2 separate regions of the Homo sapiens genome follow, and region 1 is linked to region 2. Evidence: promoter capture Hi-C in 16 types of primary human blood cells and fetal thymus (Javierre and others, 2016). All regions are on one chromosome and are shown on one strand. Each heading gives the region's core, a stretch centred on a gene start or on the middle of the fragment in contact. The rest is flanking DNA. Distances are from core to core; before and after follow the strand shown. Region 1 holds the start of TRS-CGA3-1 (tRNA-Ser (anticodon CGA) 3-1). Region 2 holds the start of ABT1 (activator of basal transcription 1).

Region 1 (4,835 bases), core at 2,104-4,603, 1.1 Mb after region 2:
TCAAGGAAAGCATGTTTTCTTTTGTGGTTTGTTGGCATAATAGACATTCACATAAAGTGTCTTTATTGAAAATAATGACCATTTTTCATCTTTGAAACATTATATATGAGCTAAGATGAATGTCTTTCCTTCAAAGCAATATTGGTGTTTCTATCTTCTCTTTCATGTGTGTGCCTACTTTTTAGCTTTTTGTTACTTATTTTTCAGGCCAATCAGCTGCTTTTACCTGAATTTGATTTTTTTTTTTTTTTTTTTTTTTTTTGAGTCGGAGTTTCGCTCTTGTTGCCCAGGCTGGAGTGCAGCGGCGCGATCTCGGCTCACTGCAACCACCGCCTCCTGGGTTCAAGTGATTCTCATGCCTCAGCCTCCCAAGTAGCTGGGATTACAGGCATGTGCCTCCATGCACGGCTAATTTTGTATTTTTAGTAAAGACGGGGTTTCTCCGTGTTGGTCAGGCTGATCTCGAACTTCCTACTTCAGGTGACTCGCCCGCCTCGGCCTCCCGAAGTGCTGGGATTACAGGCGTGAGCCACCGTGTCTGGCCTGAATTTCATTTTTAATATACTTACATTGGGCACTAATGATGTATGTGGATCAGTAATGAGCAATATGTATTATTTTAAATTTAGATATTGCCAAAAGTAAAGTGCTTTGTAATACATTTCTGGAAGTATTAATCATAGTTTTTCCCTCTTCTCGTCCAAAAGGAAAAAACAAGTACCCACTCACTAGGGAGAAGTTTATTGTAAAATGGTATTACAACTCAAAGTAGCAGATGAAGACACTCAAATTTAACGAGGAGTCAAGAATTCGGGAAAGTACACATTTTTCAGAATCACATTTGACATAGAAACTTAGAAAAAGGAACTTTACTTGCATAGCTGTTCAAAGTAAGCAAAATAGTGGAAAATGAAGAAGTGCTTATAAGGAGACGAAGTTTCGTATGGGTTTAAGAAGGTGGTCAGAAGCCAAAATATATCCTCTTTGTGCCTCTGTTTCCTCGTTTATACAAAACGCTTTGAAGAGCAACTAATGCATATGACGGATTGTTATCATCCTAATTTTTTTGGCTCCCACCAGCTGTGAGATCAGGACAAATACAAAGTAAAGATTGCTGCCTGAGAATGCTTTAAGAAAGCTGTCATACTAGTAATCTAAAAGGGAAATTGTATTCCTAATATTTTCAACGTTGCACCTGTCTTGTATTTGCCATTATGATTAGATGTAAGACAACTAGTATCTTCTTTTTCTTTGAGACAGTCTCACTCTGTCTCCCAGGCTGGAGTGCAGTGGCGCGATCTCGGCTCACTGCAACCTTCGCCTCCCAGGTTCAAGCGATTCTTCTGCCTCAGGCTCCCAAGTAGCTGGGACTACAGGCGTGCGCCAGTAAGCCCGGCTAATTTTTCTGCATTTTTAGTAGAGACGGGGTTTCACCGTGTTGGTCAGGCTGGTCTCCAACCCCTGACCTCAAATGATCCGCCCGTTTCGGCCTCCCCAAGTGCGGGGATTGCAGAAGTGAGCCACCGCGCCCGGCCTTCAAATGTACATATTTCTTGATGTACATTTCCACAAGTGTGCGCGCGCTGTAAAAGCCACAGCGATAGCACTCACAACTTTCTATCCTAGTGAACTAATGAAAGCTAACTGATGAAAGTAGCAAATTGGAAATCTAACCAGAAAATGGCGACGCTGTGAGCAGGATTTGAACCTGCGCGGGGAACCCCCATTGGATTTCGAGTCCAACACCTTAACCACTCGGCCATCACAGCTCCGAGGACACTTTTTGTTTCAGAGGAAGTCGTGTTAGGCTCTTTGACTCTCTCGCTTTTTAATGTTCCCACGGCAGGTTAATGCTTCCGTGTTTGTATTTGTCACTTTTTATATATTTGTCTCTCTCTTTCAATAAGAAGTTCCTGGGAAACATAATAGTGTCTTAATCTTTACTTGTTATCTGACTCTCTATGCATCAGAAACTTATTTGGTGCTTAGTGGCTGCTTTTGTTGCTGGAACAAATCCCCGGAGACTCAGTTGTCTGTTCCCTATTCCTCCCTCCAGTTCATGAATTTTCTTCTCTCTTTACCCAGCACATGTTAGAGTCACGTTCTTGCTGCACTCTCAATTTCCCTGCCTCTCTCACTTTGTACTCCTTTGGCAAAGCCACAACCAGGGCAGCTAAACATGGCGGAAGAAAAACAATCAGTTGACAGACCTCACTTTAAATTCATGACAATGAATGTCAAGTAGGTGCTCAAGGCTACCAGGCAAATTGTACCATACGCGATTAGATTAGTCCACTCCCAATCCTCTTGTTCTAAGTCACTGTTTCAGCCGGATGCAGTGGTCCAAGCCTGTAATCCTAGCACTTTGGAGGCCGAGGCGGGGGGGGAGATCACCTGAGGTTAGGAGTTCGAGACCAGCCTGGCCAACATGGCGAAACCCCATCTCTACTAAAAAAAAAAAAAAAAAAAAGCCAGATGTGATGGCTCGCGCCTGTAATCCCAGCTACTCGGGAGGCTGAGGCAGGAGAATAACTTGAACCTGGGAGGCGGAGTTGCAGTGAGCTGAGATGGCGCCACTGCCCTCCAGCCTGGGTGACAGACAGTGAGACTCCGTCTCAAAAAAAAAAAAAATAAGTCACTATTTCATATCTCTCATGCCAATGCTCCAACACCTCCTCTCCCATCCTTGTGTTCAATTGATGACTTTACTTCCTACTTCACAATCAGAAGAGACCTTCCACGCACATCTATCACCACATTAATCCACCTACCAGCCTCTGAAGGACTGTCAGTGATCCTATAATGCCTTGACAAGGTCGCCGATTATCTCCACATGGCTAAAATCATTTCCCAGTCCTCACCTTACTTGGGATAGCTGCAGCTATTAATACATTCTCCTTCTTACAACACTTTCTTCAATTGACTTTAGGGTAACAATTTTCCTGGTTGTCTTCCACTTAGTAATAAGCATTTAAGATTCCTCCGTGTCTTTTCATGCTTTAATAACTCATTTATTTTTAGGGCTGAATAATATTCCATTGTCTGAGGTACCGTAGTATATTTATTCATTTACCTACTGAAAGACATATTGGTTACTTCCAACTTTTGGCAATTATGAATAAAGCTTCTATAAACATTTATGTGCAGGTTTTGTGTAGACATGTTTTCAGCTCCTTTGCATAGTTGCCAAGGGGTGTGATTGCTGGATCATATAATAAAAGTATGTCTAGTGTTGTAAGAAACCACCAAACTGTCTTCCAAAGTAGCTGTACCATTTTTCATTCCCACCAACAATGAATGAGAGTTTCTGTTGCTCCATAACCTCACCAGTGTAGGTGTGGTCAGTGTTCCAGATTTTGGCCATTCTAATAGGTGGGTAGTGAGTGGTATAATACAATTAAAACAATAATACATCTGTCTGTTTACATATAATGTGGAGCATCTTTTCTTATGCTCATTGGCCATCTGTATATCTTCTTTAGCAATATCTGTTAGGGTCTTTAGCCTATTTTTTTATTGGGTTGTGTTCCTGCTGTTTAGTTTTAAGAGTCCTTTGCATATTTTGAATAAGTTGTTCATTACATAAGCTTTTTGCAAATATTTTCTTTAATCTGTGTCTTCTCACTCTTCTGATATTATCTCTAGCAGAGTAGAATTTTAAATTTTAATGACGTTTATTACTTCTTTCATGGGACATATCTTTGATGTTTTATCTAAAATGTGATTGCTTAGTCATGTGTGGTGGAACACGCCTGTAGCCCCAGCTACTTGGGAGGCTGATGTGGAAGGATTGCTTGAGCCTGGGAGTCAGAGGTTGCAATGAGCCATAATCACATCACTGCACTAGGATGACAGAGTGAAACCTTGTCTTTAAAGAAAACAAAAAACCAGAGGTGACAATGACACTCTTTGGAACATTGCATAACTTTTGTACATTCTGGAGCACATAGATTTCTCTCGAATTGTATGATACGCATTTGTAGAAAATTTCTATTGAGTTGGATGATAAGCATTTATAGTAAACTATGAACTATAACTGTCTTTTCCTCCAAAACTGTGTATATGTGCATGTTTGTATGCACACAAGAAAAAAGGTTAATAAAGTAAAAATATCAATTAGTTATTCTCTAGAATAGTATCACATCATAATTATTATAGTTCTTTTCTGAAAGATTGTATATAAAAATAAGAATTATTCGAGTCGCCCAACAGAACATCTGTTTATATTTTTCTGCCAACTGGGACCCAAGCTAGGCTCCCGTGGGAGTCCTCCTTTTGACCTGCCCCTAGCGAGAGGAAGTACTGCCCACTCTCTGAGTGGGAGTCTTAGCTTTGTTGCTTTCTTGCTTTCTTTATGAGCAACTGTCTTAGGTTTTTTTTTTTTTTTTTGAAACGGAGTCTCTCGCTCTGTTGCCCAGGCTGGAGTGCAGTGGCGAGATCTCAGCTCACTGCAACCTCCACCTCCTGGGTTCAAGCAATTCCCCTGCCTCAGCCTCCGGAGTAGCTGGGACTACAGGCGCGTGCCACCTCGCCCAGCAAATTTTTTGTATTTTTAGTAGAGACGGGGTTTCACCATGTTAGCCAGGTTGGTCTCGATCTCCTGAACTCGTGATCCGCCCGCCTTGGCCTCCCAAAGTGCTGAGATTGCAGGCGTGAGCCACTGTGCCTGGCCTTTTGTAGGTCTTTTATCTTATTTCTTCTTCCATATGTTACTTCTGACAATCCTAAGATTATTAGAATCATTAGAATCCTCTCATGGGTGCCCATGTAGTTAATAAAAAAAACAAAATAGGTATGTGTCACTTTAATTATTTCTGATTTTAAAAATATCTTTT
Region 2 (4,642 bases), core at 74-2,573:
GAAAGAGTGCAGGGCCCTGTTACTTTAGAAATATACTTGGGGACTGGCAAAAACTGTCATCTCTGATTTTAATAGTGGACACATTTACTCCCTGCTTCCATTCTCTGGGCTACTCTGCGCTCTTGGAGCGAGATGGGAAATTTTGTCAGGCCGCAGCAAGGACGGATTTATGTTGATAGTCATCAAACTCGCCCCGGGCTGCTTCCAGAAAGCTAACCGGATTACTTGTACGCGGTTCCCAGCACTGTCCTTTGCAGTCAGCTTGTCGCTGGCGCCGATGGGAAGAACTGAAACGCCTCAAGGGTGGGGACGGCGCCCCCTGCTGGTCGCGCCCTCGGGCGACGATAAGAGACTGAGGACCCGAGCCCGCGCGGGGAAAACTGCCCTGAGCTTGGCTTAGGGATGGTCCGCAGGCCGCCTGGTGGGAGCAGGACCGCCGTGGCCCGGTCCGTTCTGCGGTTGCGTAGGTCATAGAAGGAAAAGTGGTTTGTGATCTGATAGGGAATCTGAGGACAGACCCAGGGAGAGCAGAAATAAGCGCGCCGCCGGGGGGTCGCCAGAATTGGAGGCTTGTGCGCCTCTGACAAGTATTTGCAACATAAGTATGCATATGGATAATGTATCAATACACACGTGTAATAGATGCCAAACAAATTCTTCAAATAATTGTCACACATTTAAATTTTCAGACATTCACAAAATCAAATGTAAAATATTAAACTGAAAGTTCACAACTTAAATTTTCAAAAATTAAATCTAATTAAATTTCCAAAGTTGAACTGTTTTCAAAATTAAATTTTAAAATATTCAAAATTCCGAGGTAAATTTCCAGAAATAGTTAAAACCTCAAAACTCAAAATTTTTAAATGAAATTTATAAACTTTAAAAGGTGAGTCATTCCTCAGCTGGAATCGCACCCGGGGCCCTTGAATAAAATGCTATTTTGATCGCTAGAACACATAGAAACTTCTCTAAAATTGTTCTGCAAAATTCCCTAAAAAGCCGGCATCAACCCGCCTTTTAGCGTCTCGACAAGGCGTTCTATAGGGTAGGTTATATTTGGGGATCTGCCTTTTCTGGTTCTGCCTGTCCTGAGTTGGAGATCTGACCGGGAATCTGAGCCTAACCCAAGTTTCCCATCCCGCTTCCACGCTCTGAATCAGGCTTCCGACCTGACACACCACTTCCTCCCTCTCCCCTCGGCCTTCCCCTGGACCCGACTGTATTGCCCAATCATTTCCTTTCATTTGTCATCACCACCTTGGACCCGCCCCCTCGTCTCAGGCCGTCGCACGCGTTTTGCGTCAGTTGGCAAGGCACTTTACGGCCGTCGTGCCGCTCGTGTCAGTCAACATGGAGGCAGAGGAATCGGAGAAGGCCGCAACGGAGCAAGAGCCGCTGGAAGGGACAGAACAGACACTAGATGCGGAGGAGGAGCAGGAGGAATCCGAAGAAGCGGCCTGTGGCAGCAAGAAACGGGTAGTGCCAGGTATTGTGTACCTGGGCCATATCCCGCCGCGCTTCCGGCCCCTGCACGTCCGCAACCTTCTCAGCGCCTATGGCGAGGTCGGACGCGTCTTCTTTCAGGCTGAGGGTAAGTATGCAGGCCCTGACGGTGACAGGAGGAGGTTGTCGCTCGCTGGCGGGGTGCAAGCATGCATGTCCTGTTGCTTCGCTGCGCGAGGCTGAGGCACGAGTTGCTGGATTTTGGGGGTGGGGAGTGCGGTGCTTGGCTCCTGGCTGGTGAATCAGTCTGTGAGGATGCTGGGGTGGGCGGGCGGAGGGGATATGGGGAGAGTGGGTAGCGCAGTGTGTCTGGTGGTTCTTTAGTTCTCGGATTGTTACTATTTGTGTTCTTATCCCGGCTCTGTTCACCTCTCTTTCCGGACCTGTTTACTGGTTTGTTACATGAATACAACCTGAGTAAAAGTCTCGTCAGCTTTTCTACAAAACTGAACATAACTCTTTAGCATTGCTGCCTAGGTCAAGAAACTATTTGATCAACCGCCCCTCTTCTTTCCACCCTCAATTTTACATTGAGGCTGAGGACTTGTGCCGGTTTTAAGCAGCGTTCAGGGCTGGCCAGATTAAGGAGTGGACAATTAAGGAAAGAATTGAGTTAGCTAGAGGAAAGGGTGCGATTTACAGTTCCCTTCCTCCTGGGCAAAAACTCTTCAGGTGGGACTCCCACTGGCAGATGTGAAGAACGTTGCGGGCAGTGGGAGGTGCTTTTGAGTGAGTGCTGCATAGGCGTCCTGGACGGGTCTTTGTCTTTGGCGCGCAGACCGGTTCGTGAGACGCAAGAAGAAGGCAGCAGCAGCTGCCGGAGGAAAAAAGCGGTCCTACACCAAGGACTACACCGAGGGATGGGTGGAGTTCCGTGACAAGCGCATAGCCAAGCGCGTGGCGGCCAGTCTACACAACACGCCTATGGGTGCCCGCAGGCGCAGCCCCTTCCGTTATGATCTTTGGAACCTCAAGGTGAGAAGATAGATCTTTCTGCCACACCTCTCACCCTCCCTTCTCCCCAACTCTGGCCCAAGTATCCCCATGGCCTCTCATTGGCCTTGTCCCCTTGTCTCATCTTTCTCCCTAATCTGCACTATCCTGATCTTTTCTTCTTTTCTGCCCACAGTACTTGCACCGTTTCACCTGGTCCCACCTCAGCGAGCACCTCGCCTTTGAGCGCCAGGTGCGCAGGCAGCGCTTGAGAGCGGAGGTTGCTCAAGCCAAGCGTGAGACCGACTTCTATCTTCAAAGTGTGGAACGGGGACAACGCTTTCTTGCGGCCGATGGGGACCCTGCTCGCCCAGATGGCTCCTGGACATTTGCCCAGCGTCCTACTGAGCAGGAACTGAGGGCCCGTAAAGCAGCACGGCCAGGGGGACGTGAACGGGCTCGCCTGGCAACTGCCCAGGACAAGGCCCGCTCCAACAAAGGGCTCCTGGCCAGGATCTTTGGAGCCCCGCCACCCTCAGAGAGCATGGAGGGACCTTCCCTTGTCAGGGACTCCTGAGGGCCTGGGTGGCCCCTTCCATTTCCTGGCCCTGCTCTGCTTCCTGTCTACCTCATACTAGAATGATCGTGACTACCCGGGCAGACATTTTACTGTGTTTCTCAGACCAAGTGTCTACTGATGGCCCAAACATGGAGTTTTGTGGGCTTCCACTGTCCCCACTCCGAACTCCTGTATGTGCCTGGCTGAGTCACCTAATTCATACTGTCATACTAGCATAATTATGACTATTGCATATGCTTGTTTTGTTTGACTCTTGGCTGCCTACGTCTGTAGGGTCCCCTGAAAATCCCACTTCCTGCCCCCAGAAAGGGCCTTTATTTCCAACTAGGAGGATAATGCCTAGTCCAGGCAATCTTTCTCTGTTTAGCAGTCACAGGTGAGGGTGGTATTAGCATCTTTTTTATGTAGAAAAAATTGAGTTAATGGGGTGGACTGGGTTGGGAAGAAATACATTTCCTAATGTATTTATAGAAAATAAAAATATTTTTATGTGCCTTTTTATTTTTGTTGGTGGGGAGGTCATTGGACAAGTTCCAACTTTCATCTTGTGTTCCCTTCACCTTCATATCCTGATCTTAGAGCCCCCCTCCCCCTGCCACCCACCTTACTGTTTAACCTGGATTTTTTTTTCTATTTAATTTTTGTCTAATATCTTAGCCCAGTTTATCAATCAGTTATCTTAAGTCAGCATTTTCTAAGCCATTGTTTGAGGAAACAGTGACAATAGGTAATAACACATCTTAGTATTAAGAGTTTTACAGGCCACTAGTATAAGATAGGCATCGTGGTAGATGCATATAAAGGGTGGAATGGGAGCCATGGCAGGTCATAGAGTCCTCTCAATGGGAACCTGATTGATGATCACAGTCTTCAGTGGTGAGTCAGTCCTCACCAAGTTTTCCAGATCATTCCTACAAAGTAAACTGGGAGAATAATAAGTCTGAAAGAGTGTGGAGTGCTCCCACAATTACAAAGAATGCTTCCTGGGTGGAGTGTTGAGTTGGAACCATTGTAAAGGTGGGCAAAGCCTAGTAGAGAACCAGTGCACCTCAGGTGCACTTACATATGGTGGGGCTGAGGCAAAGCAGCCCTGTAGGCTTCAAAGAATCAGTGTAAGCCACTAAAAGGAACTGAAAACCTAGGTGTCACAATAAACAGTCTACACAGTCTCACGTAGACCAAAATTCTGATCATTTTCCAGGCTGTTGCATGAAGTGATAGAGTATGATTATAATTTCTGTTTGCTTGTGCTGTTTGTTTTTGTTTTTCATCTGTCAATGTGATGATCTGTGTTTTATAGGGTAGAGTGGATTTGTCTACTTTGGCTGTAAAATACCCTAATCACATTATGATCTTGACAGGTGCACTTTACTGGGGAGAATAAAAAGGACCATACGGTAAAGCTGGTATAACATTTCTCACAACCCACATACCTCTTATACTTGGCACACAAACTACGTTTCCATTTAGAAACTTTCGTCTTGTTTCTGTTTTTAATTCTTGTGGGTTTGTTTCATGTGAATTGTTTCCTCAGATCATTGATGTCTTAAAGTGAAACAGAAAAATCCAGAATCAGAATTTGACAGGCTGGCATATTCATTTATTCAGAATTCCAAGTGCCCA

The links. Contacts are between HindIII fragments. The CHiCAGO score rates a contact against its expected background, and 5 or more counts as called.
Region 1: a fragment that was not itself captured here is called in contact with the fragment with the promoter of ABT1 in region 2 in 1 of 17 cell types (total B cells); the score reaches 7.2 in total B cells.

What each region holds. Positions count from the first base shown.
Region 1 is chr6:27,670,763-27,675,597 of GRCh38, forward strand. It overlaps TRS-CGA3-1 (tRNA-Ser (anticodon CGA) 3-1), which reads right to left and starts at 1,769; the gene lies at 1,688-1,769. The HindIII fragment of the contact is 463 bases long and covers 3,123-3,585 here.
Region 2 is chr6:26,595,630-26,600,271 of GRCh38, forward strand. It overlaps ABT1 (activator of basal transcription 1), which reads left to right and starts at 1,324. Exons shown (of 3, transcript NM_013375.4): 1 at 1,324-1,594; 2 at 2,285-2,481; 3 at 2,636-4,642. The coding sequence starts at 1,354. The coding sequence ends at 3,016. RefSeq lists enhancers at 206-355, 456-615, 1,173-1,612. The HindIII fragment of the contact is 8,276 bases long and covers 1-4,642 here.